Linked DNA regions of Homo sapiens: region 2 is linked to region 1. Evidence: promoter capture Hi-C in 16 types of primary human blood cells and fetal thymus (Javierre and others, 2016). All regions are on one chromosome and are shown on one strand. The core of a region is centred on a gene start or on the middle of the fragment in contact, and the rest is flanking DNA. Distances in the headings are between cores, read along the strand shown. Region 1 holds the start of MKI67 (marker of proliferation Ki-67). Region 2 has its middle 26 kb from the start of CLRN3.

What was found. The method cuts DNA at HindIII sites, captures the fragments that hold promoters and counts their contacts. A CHiCAGO score of 5 or more calls a contact.
Region 2: a fragment that was not itself captured here is called in contact with the fragment with the promoter of MKI67 in region 1 in 1 of 17 cell types (neutrophils); the score reaches 6.7 in neutrophils.

Annotation. Positions count from the first base shown.
Region 1 is chr10:128,124,307-128,128,889 of GRCh38, reverse strand. It overlaps MKI67 (marker of proliferation Ki-67), which reads left to right and starts at 2,467. Exons shown (of 15, transcript NM_002417.5): 1 at 2,467-2,791; 2 at 3,134-3,314. The coding sequence starts at 3,223. RefSeq lists an enhancer at 1,978-2,207 and a silencer at 2,318-2,687. The HindIII fragment of the contact is 8,920 bases long and covers 1-4,102 here.
Region 2 is chr10:127,864,315-127,868,897 of GRCh38, reverse strand. It overlaps the pseudogene BUB1P1. Among named protein-coding and RNA genes, the nearest start is that of CLRN3, 26 kb to the left of the region's middle. The HindIII fragment of the contact is 2,842 bases long and covers 795-3,636 here.

The DNA of each region.
Region 1 (4,583 bases), core at 1,218-3,717:
AACAACAGAAAAGAAGTAACTCAAAATGTTTCAAAGAAGTAACTCAAAATGTTTTTCTTTCTTTCTTCCTTTTTCTTCTCTCTTTCTTTCTTTTTCTCCTCTCTTTTTCTTCTCTCTCTCTTTCTTTCTTTCTTTTTCTTTCTTTCTTTCCTTCGTTCTTTCTTTCTGTCTCTCTCTCTTTTCTATTTTTTTTTTTTGATGGAGTCTCGCTCTGTTGCCCAGGCTGAAGCGCAGTGGCGTGACCTTGGCTTACTGCAACCACTGCCTCCCGGGTTCAAGTGATTCTCCTGCCTCAGCCTTCCGAGTAGCTGGGACTACAGGCGTGTGCCACTACACCCGACTAATTTTTGTATTTTTAGTAGAGATGGGGTTTCACCATATTGGTCAGTCTGGTCTTGAATTCCTGACCTCATGATCCACCCACCTTGGCCTCCCAAAGTGCTGGGATTACAAGCATGAGCCCCTGCGCCTGGCCTAGCACCTTCTAGTTCTAATTAGGCTGCATCCATGAGGGTGGAAGAACTGTCTCTGGAAACAAGCAGTAATTAGGATGAGAAAAGTTGTGTTTTATGGGGTTATGCAGTGGTGGGCTTTGTTTGATCGTTTAATGGGGGAAAACATGGAAACTCATGCCCCCTAAAACGTTTATATAATAGTATCCCCGCACTGAATTTTTCTACGTCAGACTTGGCCCATACAATTTAGAGTTGCTGTCCTGTGCTTTTATGTTGCTTTCCCAGTTTCTCTATTTCCATCAGCAGCTGATATCTTTGTAGTTGCTCTAGAGCAGAGGGCTCAGTCTTTTCAATCTTGTGGTCCCTTTACACTCTTAAGAATTATTGAGAACCACCAGGAATTTTTGTTAATGTGGATGGGTTATATCTAGCTATATTTATATATTTTAAGTTAAGGCTAAGGAATTTAAAAATATTCATTTATTGATTCATTTTAAGATAGTGATGCACCTATTTCATGCTAACACCAATAACTTATTTTTATGGAAAAAAAACAACAAAATGAAAACAGCGCTTTAGTTCACATTTTTGCAAATCTCTGTAATACCTGGTTGAAACGGAGACAGTGGGAGTCTCCTCACTGCTTCTGCATTTGCAGAACCACACCCCACACTCTTGGGAGCATGAGAATGAGAAGGGCAAGTAACACAGAGGGTCATTAGATAAATGGTTTTGACCTTATGGACTCTCTGAAAGGAATAGGAAGTCCTCAGGGGTCCCCTGCATCGAGGCCTCCCTGATCAAGGGAGCCAAGCTCCAAGGGTTGCTGGGGAGCTGGAGGAGGTGAGATGGGGCAGAGAGGCCGTTGTCACCAAAAGCGTGTTTAGGCTCCATTCACTTCACCCCAGGTGGCCTACTGAGCCCACATGGCCACCAGCGCAACTGAAGCAGACCCCGATAGAATCCTGTGTAGAATTATTTTAGGATTCACCCATCTTGGCATGCACAAGCCATTTCAATTGAAGAATGTTTTCTAATAACAAAACATTGTAAACCTAAGTATGTGGCAATAGTAATGATTAAGTAAATTATGGTTTCCCGAAGCCCAGTGCTCTGCAGCCATCAGAGAGTAAAAGCGAGAATGTGTTCAGTGGAGATAGCCTCAGGATATTTAAAAGCAGAGAGCACAAAGTATAGAATCGTGTTGTGTATGTTATGACCTTTTTTTCTGTGCTTTTGAAAAAGAGAATACACGTATAGCAGGAAAAGACACACCAAACTACTTTATATAATTGGTTGTTTTTGTGTTTGGTAAGATGTATGCACTGAAGAGGAAGGTTTCGATTTTTTTTTTTTTTTTTTTTTTTTTTTTGAGACAGGGCTTTGCTCTGTCGCCCAGGCTGGAGTGCAGTGGCGCGATCTCAGCTCACTGCAGCCTCGACCGCCCCGGCTCAAGCGATCCTCCCACCTCAGCTGTCCCAGTAGCTAGAACTACAGGGGCGCCACCACGCCTGGCGAATTTTTTGTAGAGATGGGTTCTCTCCAGGTGGCCCAGGCTGGTTCTGAACTCCCGGGCTCAAGGGATCTTCCTGCTTCAGCTTCCCAAAGTGCGGGGATTACCGGCGTGAGCCACCGCGTCCCGCCTGTTTTTAATTTTTAGCAGTTTTAAATCTTCTGGCAATGAGTAATGTTATAGTGTCCCAGATGTTTGGTCCTTTAAGAAAAGGATAGCAGGACGGGTTATCTCGGTGGGAGCGTGTTCCACCTCTGCCCTCCGCCAGCCGCCCTCGCCGGGGATGCACCCAGGTATTTTCCTCCGGATGCGTGAGTGGCTCGCCCGCGGACACGCCAGCCCCGCCCCGCGAGCCCGGTTTCCCCGCCCCCTCCCCGCCCACGCCCTGCGCTCCCTTCCTATTGGTCCCATGCCGCGCTTTCCCGTTCAATCGCAGCGCTTAGCGCCAGAATTTGAATCTTCGTTTTCGTTTGAATTGGGCGGGCGCGCCGGGCTGGAAGAAGGAAGTGGAGGGCTGACGCTGCGGGCGGGCGGGCGGGCGGGAGGACTCGACTCGGTGGGAGCCGCTAGAGCCGGGCGCCCGGGGACGTAGCCTGTAGGGCCACCGGGTCCCCGTCAGAGGCGGCGGCGGGAGCAGCGGGGACTGCAGGCCGGGGTGCAGCGAACGCGACCCCGCGGGCTGCGGCCCGGTGTGTGCGGAGCGTGGCGGGCGCAGCTTACCGGGCGGAGGTGAGCGCGGCGCCGGCTCCTCCTGCGGCGGACTTTGGGTGCGACTTGACGAGCGGTGGTTCGACAAGTGGCCTTGCGGGCCGGATCGTCCCAGGTGAGCTGCGGCCGGGACTCCTGGGAGCTGTCCGGGGTCGAGGGCTGAGCCGCGGGGACCCCCCGAGCTCTGCGGGGACGGGCAGGGGACAGACGCGCGGCCTGGGCCCGACTCCTCCTGGGCTCTGGCGAGGGCGTCTCGGTGGAAGCTCCCAGGAGGCGCAGGCGCTGGCGACAACACCCCAGCTGCCGGACTTTGGGGCGCCGGGGGCTGCGGTCGGATCGTCCTGGGGTCCCCGCTAGCTAGCTGCGGTGTGCGCTTCTGTGGCCGGGGATAGGTGAATTGGGCACGGGGCCCTTCTTAGCTCCTTTGCTATCAGAGTAACTCGCACCTCTTTTGCAGTGGAAGAGTTGTAAATTTGCTTCTGGCCTTCCCCTACGGATTATACCTGGCCTTCCCCTACGGATTATACTCAACTTACTGTTTAGAAAATGTGGCCCACGAGACGCCTGGTTACTATCAAAAGGAGCGGGGTCGACGGTCCCCACTTTCCCCTGAGCCTCAGCACCTGCTTGTTTGGAAGGTGAGCCCCGCGGGCGCGCGCGGACGTTTTAGCTGAGAAAGAGGAAAATACCTTAGTCACAGAATAAAGTCCAGAAACGCGCTCTAGGATTGGGTCCTGCCGTCACTTTTCCTTGGTGCTTCTCCCATTCGTTACTAAGTTGACATAGTTGTGTTTTTTTGTTTTGTAAGTATAAATTTGATGCTAGTTTGTATGTTTAAGTGGTTTTAAAAATCAAGCCAATTAAAAAAATCGATTTGCTAATGTTGCGGTAAAGAAAGATGTAGATGATCTTCATATGTCACTGGCTGCAGGCAGGCGTCTGAAGACACTGTGCGCCCCCGGGTGCCTCCACAGTGGGCATCCCTGGCCACTGGGGACACAGAGAATGAAGGAAGGAAGCCATACACTTGTCTCTTGGCTCCTTGTGGCAATAGGAAAATGGGACAGAAAGTCTTCCTGCCTGGAATTCGAGAACGTTTCCTCTTATATTGCTGTCCTGTTTGGTGGTGGTAATAACCCTGTCCCTGTATAACAGGTATAGTTGCTGACAGTGCCCCATCAGCCTCTGACATGTGTCCCACTAGAGGCCTGAGAAGGGGGGTCATTTCCCGTGTGGTCATTTCCCAGACCACACGGGATTCAGGCCTCACCCTGTCCTCCCAACCCCATCCCGGCCTCACCCTGTCCTCCCAACCCCATCCCCTACCTTGTTCCTCCCGCCTAAGGCATTCCAAGCCTTTGTTCACCTTGGTACTTCTTACACACTTGGAAGTTTACAATGGGAAAGTTCTCCCCTTCCTCAAGCTTGTGTGATTTCCATCATTCAGGCATCAGGTGAAATGTCACCTCTGAGGAAGCCTTGCATGAAAACTTGTATTTCCAACCCCACAGCTTCAGGGGTGAGTTGTGGGTTTGTCTCCCACTAGGCTGAGCTCCCCAAAGGCAAAGACTGTCTTGTTACTAATCACGTGTGTAGGGCCAGGGATGGTGTCTGGCATAGGGGGTGTGATCAATACCTAGCATTCTGGCAAGGGTCAGTAGAAACATGGGCTGGAGCCATGGATTTGCAATCTCTTGAGAACAGTGGTTCTCACAGGAGGGTCATCTAACCTTCCAGGATTCATTTGAATTTCCATGTCACAATATAGGACAGGGGCATGCGCTGTCATCGCGGAGGAGAGGTCAGGGTGGGCATCCTACCAGGCTCAGGGCAGCCCCCACAATACAGAAGCATCTGGCCCAAGATGTCAACAGTGCCAAAGCTCAGAAACACCCATCTATAGTCGT
Region 2 (4,583 bases), core at 966-3,465, 260 kb after region 1:
CAATCAGAAGACATAACAATCCTAAATATATATGCATTTTTACATATAATAAAATCTGAGCTCTCAGATTCATAAAAATATTACCATTAGACCTAAGAAAAGAGATAGACAGTAACATAATAATAGTGGGGGACTTCAACACTCCACAGATAGCACTAGACAAATCATCCACACTCCTCCAAGTATGGGGTGGTGATGTCCCCAGTGACAAGTTGTGCAGTTTGATGCCAATGCCTTGATACTGTGGTAAGGTCAACCCATCTCACCCACCATTGCTTTTCCACCATCTGTTCAAGTATCCCCAAAGAAAAAAGGAAATAACATCTAAGTATTGTGATGAAAATAGTTTTGATCTTGCAAACCTCACAGTGTAGTCTCAGGAGCCTCCAGGAGTCTGGGACCACTTTTTAAGACCCGATGCTATAGATGCCTCCCACCGAAACTCTGCCATTCTGGAATAAATCAGACAAATCTAGTTTATTAAATAAATGTCACACACCTGGTTTTGGTCTTCCCATCAGTTAGGTTTTGATATAGAATTTTCAGGAATCCAAAAAGTCCTGAATCTTGAAGACAATCTTCTATTTCTTTAGTGATTATTTACTTTCCTGTGGGTAGCTTCTTAGACTTGGGAAAAGGTCCTTTCTTCAAAAGGTGATCAACGGAAAACAGCAAAAAATTCAGATTAACCTGTTAACTTGGAGTTTGTATCACTATTAAAAAGCATTTGAATAGTTATTCACTGATTTAGAGAAAATAATCTCATCATCTCGTGGGTCCTCAACACTAAAGCTTATAGTGTCAACACTTCCAAATGGCTTGCATCTAATCTTTGGAAGACTCACTCTGCCATCAGCAATTGACCTTTGTGCACAGCCAGTCTCTGTGTTAACCAGTCCAAGGCCCTGCTCCACCTGGTCTGTAAATATACTCCCTGAAGCTGGACTTCTTAGAGTGAGTGAGGTTGCTGAATATACATCTGTTGGCCATAACTGTTCTGGACTCTTCTTTTCAACAGAGTCTCACTCTGTCACCCAGGCTGGAATGCAGTGGTGCAATCATGGCTCACTGCAGCTTCAACCTCCTGGCCTCAAGTTATCCTTCTTCATTGCCCTTTCAAAGTGCTAAGATTACAGGCATAAGCCACAATGCCCAGCCCTGGACTCTTTCTTTGAATTGGAATTAATTTTTCTTGTCTTTTTTTTGTGTGTGTGAGATGGAGTCTCGCTCTGTTGCCCAGGGTGGAGTGCAGTGGCATGATTTTGGCTCACTGCAATCTCTGCCTCCTGGGTTCAAGTGATTCTCCTGCCTCAGCCCCCTGAGTGGCTGGGATTACAGGTGCACAACATCATGCCTGGCTAAGTTTTTTTTGTATTTTTTAGTAGAGGTGGTGTTTCTCCATGTTGGCTAGGCTGGTCTTGAACTCCTGACCTCAGGTGATCGCCCTCCTTAGCCTCCCGAAGTGCTGGGATTACAGGCATGAGCCACCATGCCTGGCAAACTTTTCGTTTTGTGAGGGCTCCGTTATGTCTTTATAAAAATTCAAAGTTATACAATAGTTTGTAATCACATGTTTTTTTTTTTAAAATCTTCAAGAGCTTTCCCTGCATCATCTGGAAGTGTGTTCAGTAGTGTTGGAAGCAAGCTGTGTGGCAAATGTAAATCCTCCTGCTTTTAGGTTTTAAATGCACAAGCCAGGTTCTGTTGTAGCAGAAGCTCCCAGTGGGAGGGCCACCCAAAAACCCTGTAGCATGAAATACTTCATTTTATCTTGAAGGAAATCTGCTTGTTGCATGCTCTCCAAAGGATCTGGCTCCTGCCTGTAGGTTTAGTTTTAGACTGATGTATTCCATAATTTTCTTTGTTTCTATCTTTAAATGCTGGAGAACAGGCTAGGAAAGAGGGAGGAATAATTGTATTGACTCCTCAAACTACAGAAGACTTAAAAAAAAACTAGGTTGTGTTTAAATTGCATCTTCATCTTGATCCAAGGTGACCATTTATCTTTGTCACCAGCAACACTCAGGTCTACCCTCTGCCAGGACAGTGGCTTCCAGATGACTAGTGTGCCCATTGGACTATTGGACTCTACACACAATGGTCTCAGATCTCTGTATTTGTTTAGTTTCTGGATTTTTCCTTTCTAGATAAATGCTCTCTTTTCTTGCTGCTTGTTTTTTCTTTCAGTTTGCTTCTCTGCTGTTTAGACACTCATTTGTAGAAGGCCATGACCCACTTCTAATTTGCTGATTCTAGTTTTACGTGAACGTAACAGCACCTAGCTGAGCTTCCTGGCCCCATCCCTTCTTTCAACAATGCATGGGCATCCTTCTTGGGTGAGCTGCTATGCTGACTGCTGGAAATGTGGAAATACATGAAGACAGTAGCGGAATAAGGACAGTGTACCACAAGCGCCCAGTGGAGGGAGGAATTATCTGGATGAGTCAGTAGTAAAGTCGTCCTAGAGGAAGAGATCCTTTTACTGAGGCTTGAAGGACGACTAGGCGATTGTCCTGGAAGTGGGAGGCGGAGGATATTCTGGCCCCTGTCCTGGGGAATTCTCTTTGAGAACTGCTGTTTGAACCAGTTTCCAGGCCACACAGGAAAACAGCCCCCTTCCTTGAGAGCCTTGTCCCCAAGTAACATTCCACAACTCAGTCACAGTCTTGGTTCTGAATCGGCTGATTCCAAAGGCTAAATAAATCTACCTGCAAGAAGGTTTTCTTCCATTCAGGCTGCTACCTTGGGCTTCTGAGGCAATTCCTAAACCTGTTTTGAGAATGGTCACATGATTGAAATAGGTAAACAGTCTTCTATAGTAAGTAGGAACTGTTTCTAACCTGCAGTTAGGTTTCTAAATTAGTTTTTGTTATGCTGTAACATAGAACTCAATTGGAACAATATTATCAAAGGAAGGTTAAGATCCCAAGATGGTCTCCATTTTGCAACTAAGAATCTATATATTAATAAAGCCTTTGAAACTAATTTCCATGTTTTACTCTGTTTCTATGGAGAATGACAGTTATGGAAGTTGGAGATGTGGAGAACGTGGTTACATCCATGCATGGGATGTGACGAAGCAACTGAAAATCACGCTTGAGGAGATGATATGTACAATATGATGTATGAAAAAGGCAGGAGTGAGATTGTTAACACAGGTGCCTCTGGGTGGTGAGGCGTACTGGGTTTAATTTTTCCTAACACTGTCCTGTTAAAACAAAAGTCCTCCATATTCACACAATGCTTCTAATACCAAATGTGTAGTTATCGACACCAAATTCCCCAATTCTGTGGGGACACCAGCTGGGTGTCCTACAATTTAATCCACTTCTGACACTATCTACCTGGAGTCTGGGCAGACTCCCCAAATTAAAGAGCTTACCCTCCCAAGACTGCCCCACTTCAGACACCAATCACAAGTAGTGGGTCCCCAGGTTACCCACACTTCTCTCCATCTTGGCTGCAAATCAGAGGTTCCCCCATTCCCCCCCTCTAGTTTGATAATTTGCTGTAATGACTCACAGATTAAGGGAAACACATTACTCCCTATTACCAGTTTATTACCAAGATACAACTTAGGAACAAATGGCAGAGACACATAGGACAAGGTACTAGGGGGTAGGGTAAAGAGAAGCTTCCATGCTGTCTCCAGGCACAGCACCCTCCCAGCTCCTCGGTGAGCTCACCAACCTGAAAGCTTTTTGAACTCCATCATGTGATGGTTTTCTGGGGGCCTCATTGATGAAGGCATGATCACTAAATCGTTGGCCATTGATGATTAAGTCAATCTCCAGCCCTTTTCCCCTCTCTGGAGGCTGGGGGTGAGGTTGAAAGTCCTAATTCACTCATCAGGCCTTGGTCTTTCTGGTGACCCACCCCTATCCCGAAGCGACCCTATGGGCTCCCAGCCAGCAGTCATCTCATTAGTAGAGAAAAGACACTTATCACTCTGGAGATTCCAAGGGTCTTAGAAGTTCTTGTGTTAGGAATGAAGGACGGAGACCAAATATTATAACAAAAGATGCACCTATCACCCCTATCACACAGGAAAGTATAAATAACCAACAGAAATTTATTTCTTGCAGTTCAGGAGCTTGTGTCAGGAACCAGGGACAGAGACCAACTATGCATTTCTTATGATGTCATAATTAGCATGCATTACTTTTATATTTAGCAACAATATTCAACGTTTTCCTTTTTAAAAAGGAAGAGAACAGAAAATGGGGAAAATTAATTCACTTTTCATAAGGTCTGGAGGTTTTAGAGCATTAGCCAGAATCATAGGAAAGGGGTAAACTTGGAATTGCAAAGCTTGCTGGGGGTTTGATTTCAACTGCAAAACTGAGAGCATGTGACTAAAATGCTGGTCCAGTTGCTCATCACTTGTAGAATCCAGTTAACAAGAGTGAGGTCTGGTATAAAGAAAGTAGCTTTTTCACTCTAAAGCTGGCTTAAGGGAATAAGTATAAGCTTCCTGCCTAAGGGTACCATTTAGCTTTTGGAGAAGAAAGTGAACACTTGTAAGGGAGGCCTAACATGAACGGCATGTGGTAGGCGGGCTATCGGGGAGTCCAAGGAGGCAG